2 separate regions of the Homo sapiens genome follow, and region 1 is linked to region 2. The links are contacts of gene promoters, found by promoter capture Hi-C in blood cells and fetal thymus (Javierre and others, 2016). All regions are on one chromosome and are shown on one strand. Each heading gives the region's core, a stretch centred on a gene start or on the middle of the fragment in contact. The rest is flanking DNA. Distances are from core to core; before and after follow the strand shown. Region 1 overlaps SLC44A3 (solute carrier family 44 member 3). Region 2 holds the start of TLCD4 (TLC domain containing 4).

Region 1 (3,630 bases), core at 102-2,601, 250 kb after region 2:
GTCTTGGCAGGCAGAGCAGGTTGGGGAGAGGCACTATGAGGTAAGAAGGGGAGAGAGGTGTATATTTCCCCAGAAGCAGCAGGTTTTTCTCTGCCTTGACCTTCACAAGATTATCTGGGACCTTTCTGACCAGTATATTCATCAGTCAGAAAGACAGGAAGCTGCTGGCATTTCTGATCAAATAGCAAGAGGCAACAATCTGTACATGTACTTACTAGATCTTATCTAGAGGGATGACAAAGGAAAGTAAGCTGCACGCTTTACACACTGCATCAAGGTGCATCGGGGTCACTTGGTTCCCTCCTCAAGGGGATGCAGCACAGATCCATCAGGCTCGCAGCTATCTTGCATGATAGCCCAAGGCAGAAAAGGGCTGTGAAAGGCATTGGACATTACAGTACACTCCTACTGTTGAGAATGACTGAGCTGCCTGGCATTTGACCAGTATCTCATCACCAGTTATTTTATTTATCACTATATGTTATAGCAGAACTACTGGCAGGATCGCTGTAAGTAGATACAGATAAATGGCTCCTCTTTGTTCATTCACATTCTCAGACAACTCTACAAGATTCCAGTGCCTCAGAATTGAGGCAACATGAAACATCACTGATTTTTGTGGTTCTAGGATAAGTCCTCACCATGGATACAAGGTATATCATGAAGAGAAATGAGCCTGTCATTTTGGAACACCACAGGAAAACAAACAGCTCATATTGTTTTCCACTCTCCCCCCATTTCCCACACAAAGCATCTCATGGCTTTGATGCTGTGGGGCAGCACTGTGCATGCCCCCAGCTCTGGGCTGGATGCCATGACAAGGGTCAAAAAGCCACATAAGAACCTTGGGGGTCACTGAATCTAACCCTTTCATATTGCAGAAGCTCAGCAAGTTTAAGGGACTCACCCAAGTTACTCAAATAATGAAGAGGCAGAGGCAAACTGCTGCTATACCTGACTGAAGTCATTTTTACCTGGAAGCTTCTCCCAGGAGACTGGTATAGATATGGTGGTTCTCAGACTTCTGACACTAGCCCACAGCTCATTGCCTATACCCATTCCCACTTCTGCTGGAAGAAGAACAAAGCATTGAAGAGGAATGCAATGCTTAAAGTGATTTAAAAAAAAAAAGAATGAATAAACAAAAGGCCGGGCACGGTGGCTCACACCTGTAATTCCAGCACTTTGGGAGGCTGAGGTGGGTGGATCACCTGAGGTCAGGAGTTCGAGACCAGCCAACATGGAGAAACCCCATCCCTACTAAAAATACAAAATCAGCCAGGTGTGGTGGGACAAGCCTGTAATCCCAGCTACTCGGGAGGCTGAGGCAGGAGAATCACTTAAACCTGGGAGGCGGAGGGTGTAGTGAGCCGAGATCGTGCCATTGCACTCCAGCCTGGGCAACAAGAGTGAAACTCTGTCTCAAAAAAAATAAAAAATAAAAAAATAAATGGAATACTCAACAGAAGTAAAACATCAAGACAAGAATGACTGCAACCAAACAACACAGTCAACTCAAGGCAACACTGGTGGTAGCGAAGTGTTCTTTTCCCAGTTTGCAAATCCCAACTGTCTACGTGTGTGCATTCATAAATTTTGCAGGGTCACCAGGCATTGCCTCGGCAGTTAGATGTCTGAAAAGAGTAATGAGTTTGAGTCCTTAAGAAACTATGTTAAGACACCAATTTGGATTTATAAAGAACACATTTTAGTAAGCTTTAATAACACACGCTTTACTTTATTGATTGGCAAACAGCTCCTTGTTGTATGCAAAAATGAAAAACCTATGGAATCCTGCTATTTGCCTATAAAAATTGAAAAAAGGATTTTCTAGAATGTTCAGATCAGTTTGGAACCATCAGGAAGAGTCCTGGGGCTCACCAGTGGGTTTCATACTTAGAGGAACATTGACCTAAAGCCAACATCATGGCTGGGACAGAGGCCTGTGTCCACAATGGACAAGAGATGTGCACTTAGGGAGACATTTCCATGAGGAACTGTGTGCAGACCTGGTAAGAAACAGTAAGTACACCATTCTTGCTGAGTGCTTAGCCTGTAGTCTCACAGTGGGGTTCTTAGCCAGGCCCCTGGAAAGTGCTGGGAGGGAGAGGGGAGGCTGTAAGGTCCCTTTGCCTGAAAGTCTCTGAGAATGGCCAGCCAACACTCCCAGACGCTTTGACCACTAACTTGCCTGAGGAAAGGAGGAGGGGCCAGGCCACCCTGACCAGCCTTTTCTGGATGGATAACTGCTTGATTACAGTTACAGTGAGTTCATCATCTTCATTGCTCCTTCACCTTTCCCGTCTTCCTCCACAAAAGTCTGCTGTGTAACAAGATGTGCTCTGCCAGCTCTACTTGTCTGGACTCTGGCTTTGCTCACATCCCCAGGTGGTGGTCATGAGTCCTCCTCTGGCTATTTTAAAAATGCACAGTGGTTAAGGGCTTGGGTCCTGGAGGGAAAACAGACTTGGATTCAAATCCTAGTTCTGCCACTATGTGCCTCCTCTAAGCCTCAATCTCCCTATCTGTAAACTGGAGACACTATCTCAAAAACTAACAACTGGCCACGAATGGTGGCTCATGCCTGTGATCTCTGCAGTTTGGGAGGCCAAGGCGGGTAAATCACCTGAGGTCAGGAGTTCAAGACCAGCCTGGCCAACATGGTGAAATGCCGTTTCTACTAAAAACACAAAAACTTAGCATGTGGTGGCATGTGCCTGTAGTCCCAGCTACTCCGGAGGATAAGGCAGGAGAATCACTTGAACCCGGGAGGCAGAGGTTGCAGTGAGCTGAGATTGTGCCACTGCACTCCAGCCTGGGCAACAGGAGCAAAACTCCGTCTCAAACAAAAGAAAACAAAAACGAAAACAAAAAACCTAACAACTGATATAATGCAGGAAAAGTGCTCAGCATACAACTGGCAAAATAGTTTATTGCCAATACCCACAGCTGTTATTGCTGTCGTTAGTAGCTGGTGATCTCCAGTGGGTGCTCTATACTCAGGTCCACCTCTCCTAGGAAATTTCCCCTAATTACAGAGTCAAATGACCTCTCCCAGTGACCAAGATTCCCCTTTTCTGAACTTCCACAGCCCTATCCCAACACTTAAACATGTACTTTTCTGTACTGTCATATAAATGTCTCATGCATATACCACTTACTGGCCCCTGGCTCCCAACAACTAGCTTGTCAATTTCTTGGAGGCTTGCCTTTTGCACTATACAGTAATGACTCTGTATCACCTCTGTATCACCATGGTCCTGGTCCCTATTATGCCCAGGTAGAAATAGTCTGCATACAGCATAAACACATGGTTGCTGGATGAACGCATGTGTGAGGTGAACATGTAATTTTTTCAGTATGCACACACTCAGTATTTATGATGTAGGGAGAAAAGTAAATGAGAAATTATGAGACTGAGAGTTTCATTCCCCACCTTGTAAGTGAATGCCTGTGCAGCCTTAGGCTGGGTGTTCACAAAATGCAGCAACTGCCACCTGCCTCCCTACTAGGATTTAGTGAAGATGGATTAGGCTTTTAAGAAGCAGTGGGAAAACACAACCATCTCCTTGATGTTAAATAAAGATGAGCATCTGAGTTTTGATGGTAACAAATGGATCTCATTCTCTT
Region 2 (3,737 bases), core at 1,165-3,664:
GCCCATTTTCCTCTAATACATGCAAGACCAGCTTTGAGAGAGGAACATGAACGCTGGGCCTCCTTTAGAGCACCAAAGAGGAGAGTAAACAGGTCTGAAAACTGTTAAGACAGCTGTGCTTGACTCTGAGGAGCCAGAAACACTCTCAAAGAGAAAGAGGGAGAAGGGCCCATCAAACCTCAGGTACATTCCCAAACCTGCCTAGAAGCTGTGCCACTTCCCTTTTGAAACCCAGCCCCTTTCCCATTTCTCAATTGGGAATCTAGGGATCCTTTACTTCCTACTAGTTATCTGGTTACAGGGAGGACTCTCCAACACCTACAAAGCCACTACTTCTTTCTCCCCAGTCTTTTGCAGGGAAGGCTCTTAATCAGTCTAACACTCAGATTTCTGATAGCTCCCTGCTCATAAGACTTCCCTTGGCAATCAGATGAATTTACCCAGTGGAGATTTCAGAAAATCAAGGAAAAGACAGGCCAACTCTTGCATCTGTACTCCAGGACCTATTCAGAAGACTCCAGTGAAGACCTAGCTTCCCTGGGGTTTGCATTAGTCTCAGCACCTTGAGCATGCCATTCCTAGTTCACCTCCAAGTATAAAGCATTAGTAGCAAAGACCCATTATTCTTTCCACCAGGGTAAAGAAGGCTTAGAGTGAAATGAATATAAATGGAAATCTAATACTGTAAATAAATAATGACTGATTGGGCAGCTGGGTCAGAGGCATCCAGCCTAAACAGATAAAATTCATCTCAAGGATGAGGACAGTAAAGATTCAAACTCCAGAGGGAGGTAATGGGACAAAAGGAGTTGCAGGCGTAGAAAAAAAAAGAAGCACCCTCAAAATATTCTCTGGGTTATCAGATGGCACAGGAGGGGCGTGGCAAATAAACTAAAATCCATGGTTCTTCACCCATTCTTTCATATTTTCTAACACGGCGGGAATACACTTTTCTAATTTCGTTTCGCCCAATTTAAGGAAAAGATAAGCAAGGATAAAAATTCCTCATATATAGCACAATTAAAAGGGAGCTGGGATTCTCTAACTTATTACCTTAATCGGCTACACAAAGATGAAGCTACATTTCAATCGACACCATGCGCTGGCACGGGAGTAACTCACTTAAAACACCACAATCCAAGGTCAATTTTTCTCAACTCCATTTATGACTGCGTAAAGATTTTATTAAATCTTTTTTCCTATTTCACACATCAATTCCTAGGGTCCACACAAACTCTTCCATCTTCTCCAAACTGGTATTTGGATTAAACATTATCCAAGATCAGTCTTTAAAGTAAATTTCATAATTTCATATAAAAGTGTGCACCACATTAACACTCAAATGTGTGTACAATTAAAAATATACAGACCAGCAACAGCGACTCTTAAATGAATTTAGACTCAAAGTGTTTTCACAGAGGTTTTTCTGCCGTCTTGGAGGGGTAGGAAACTGCTGGCATTACGAATCCCATTTCATGGCTGGGTAAACCGAGGCACTTAGGGGTTACAGAGGTAAAGATGGAAATAGAAACCAATTTCTCCCTCCGACTCTACGCCTGGTCCCTTCCCACTAGACTTTTCAGCACTCAGTGGCTAAAAATGGGACCCACTTGAGAACTGCAAGGGTAAATAAGAGCTACTTGTTTCAGAAGGTGGCGGCGGGGGAGGGGGACTTACCCACTTGATGCGCCCGATTGTGTGTGGGCTCTAACAAGAAAGCTCTCCCTGGATGCCCAAAGGTTTGCACCCACCCGCTTTAAGCTCAGACCCGAGAGGCACCGCCAGGCAGACAGGGCAGCCGGAATCGTGCAGCCCGAGAAACGCGAGAGGAATGCGGGGCGCCCGGGCGGCGCGGGGGCCGCGGGCCCCGGGACACCATTTGCTCCCGGAGCGACGCCGTGGCCCGCCGGGCGGGGACGATGCTGAGCCTTCCGCACACACCTGCCGGAGCCCGCCCGGGAGCCCCGGGCCGCCTCCCGCGCGCCGGACGCCCACCCAGCCTCCAGGCGCAGGAGCTCTCGGCCGCGCTAGGCCAGGGGCGGGAAGCCGCGGCACCCCTCTCCGCGGGCTGCGCTTGGCGGCTGGCGCGGGGGAGCCGCGGGGCGAGGCAAGCCCGCCTTCCTCCCCAACCCCCCCTCCAAACGGCGTCACCTGTGCCGGGTCCCGGGGCGAGTCGCGCGCGGGCGGCGGCTGCGCCGAGCCGGGAGAGGGCGGCGGGTGTCTACAGGAGTCTGCTCATCCGGGCCGGCCCGAGGGCTGGCGCTGGCCAGTGCCGCCCGGTGAGATGCTCACGGGAGCCAGGGAAGCCGCGGGTTCCGGGCCGCTTGGAGGTGCAGTCGCGGAGGCTCCAGCTACCGCGGCGGCCGTCGCGCCCGCCCGGACTGCGGGCTCGGGTTACCGCAGAGCTGCTCCTTAAAGGGGCCGCGGCCGCTCGGGCTCCGGCTCCCGCTCCGGGCGGCTCCGACCCTGGCCAAAGTGGGCGGGGCCCCGAGGCGGGCCGCCGAGCAGACCTTCTTGCCCTGGAACTTGGGTCCCGGAAAGAGCCCAAAAACCCTAACACCCGAAGTCGCAGCGGAGAGATCCTGGAAGCTCACACCTTGCCAAGGGCAGAGGGTGCAATTCCCGGGTTTTCCAAAGCAAGTCACAAAACTTGCCAGCGGGGGAACTGTGTGAGCCCGCCCCCGCAGCGGTCAGTACCTGGGCTAGCCACGTAACAAAAAATCTTCTTAAATTATGAATTTACATTCTGCCTTAAATGCTCAAATACTGGGGACTTCATGGTTAGATCATCAGAAAAGAGATGAAAAGGCAACTGCTGGTTTTTCTTGCCACGTCTGACACGGCCACACTCGAGTCCCGCCAGTTCTTCTTTGGGGCTGCAGGTGCATACCAAACTGGTAGGGGGCGCGTGTAGAAGAAGCGTGTTCTCTCCAGCACCACCTCCAGAATTCCTGAAAAACACCCTCATGGGTGCACCAGCACTACACCTACACCCGGAACCCCTCTGTTGTCGGGGTGTGGAAGTTGGATTTGAATATTTGGTGCTGGCTGAGAATTCCAAGTTGCCTAGTAGATAAAGTTTGACATTAAATAGATGTTCTGACCTGTTATATACAGCCCCAAAAGCCTCCAAGTGATCTGCATCAACCAGAGATAATTGTCTGAAACAAAACAAAATAACAAAGAGGTATACTCATGCATTATAATTCGCAGAGAGCAATCACAAGGCCTTTTCTTGAAAAGAGGTAAGTTCTAAATAAATAATTTGTAAACACTATCATTGATAACAGGATATTTATTTCTAAGAAATGTCAATAGAGCTAACATATTTGATCTACTATATACATGCGCAGAAAGACACACATATCTGCCGCAGATTTAGACCAGAAAATATATACACAAAAGCTCATATAAGCTGTCCATGTTTATTTTCAAGAGAGGGCAATAGAATTTAAATCAGAACCTGGAATTCTGTCAGTTTATTAGAGTTGTGTGCCTTTAGCTAACTGAACCTCACTGAGGCTCAATTTCTTCATCTTTAAAATGGTAATAATAATTCATAGTGACTCTGAAGACCTGGACTGATGTGGAAAAGACAAAATCTATACCACAGAACAGGGAGGGACAGAAACCTGCCCTGCAGTCAAGCAGAGAGAAAGATCTTTCAGGCCCCCAAATGCGTGTTCCCCTTTTTCTCCCCAAGACTCTCAGGATGTACCAGGGCTCCAGTGCTCTTT

What was found. The method cuts DNA at HindIII sites, captures the fragments that hold promoters and counts their contacts. A CHiCAGO score of 5 or more calls a contact.
Region 1: a contact is called between a fragment that was not itself captured here and the fragment with the promoter of TLCD4 in region 2, in 1 of 17 cell types (naive B cells). The highest score is 5.2, in naive B cells.

What each region holds. Positions count from the first base shown.
Region 1 is chr1:94,869,913-94,873,542 of GRCh38, reverse strand. All of the region lies in intron 12 of SLC44A3 (solute carrier family 44 member 3), which reads right to left. Among named protein-coding and RNA genes, the nearest start is that of SLC44A3, 51 kb to the right of the region's middle. The HindIII fragment of the contact is 735 bases long and covers 984-1,718 here.
Region 2 is chr1:95,116,032-95,119,768 of GRCh38, reverse strand. It overlaps TLCD4 (TLC domain containing 4), which reads right to left and starts at 2,414. Exons shown (of 7, transcript NM_152487.3): 1 at 2,152-2,414. TLCD4-RWDD3 (TLCD4-RWDD3 readthrough) reads right to left here and starts at 1,846. Exons shown (of 8, transcript NM_001199691.1): 1 at 1,678-1,846. RefSeq lists silencers at 1,924-1,973, 2,054-2,333, 2,261-2,407 and a cis regulatory region at 3,662-3,737. The HindIII fragment of the contact is 12,433 bases long and covers 1-3,737 here.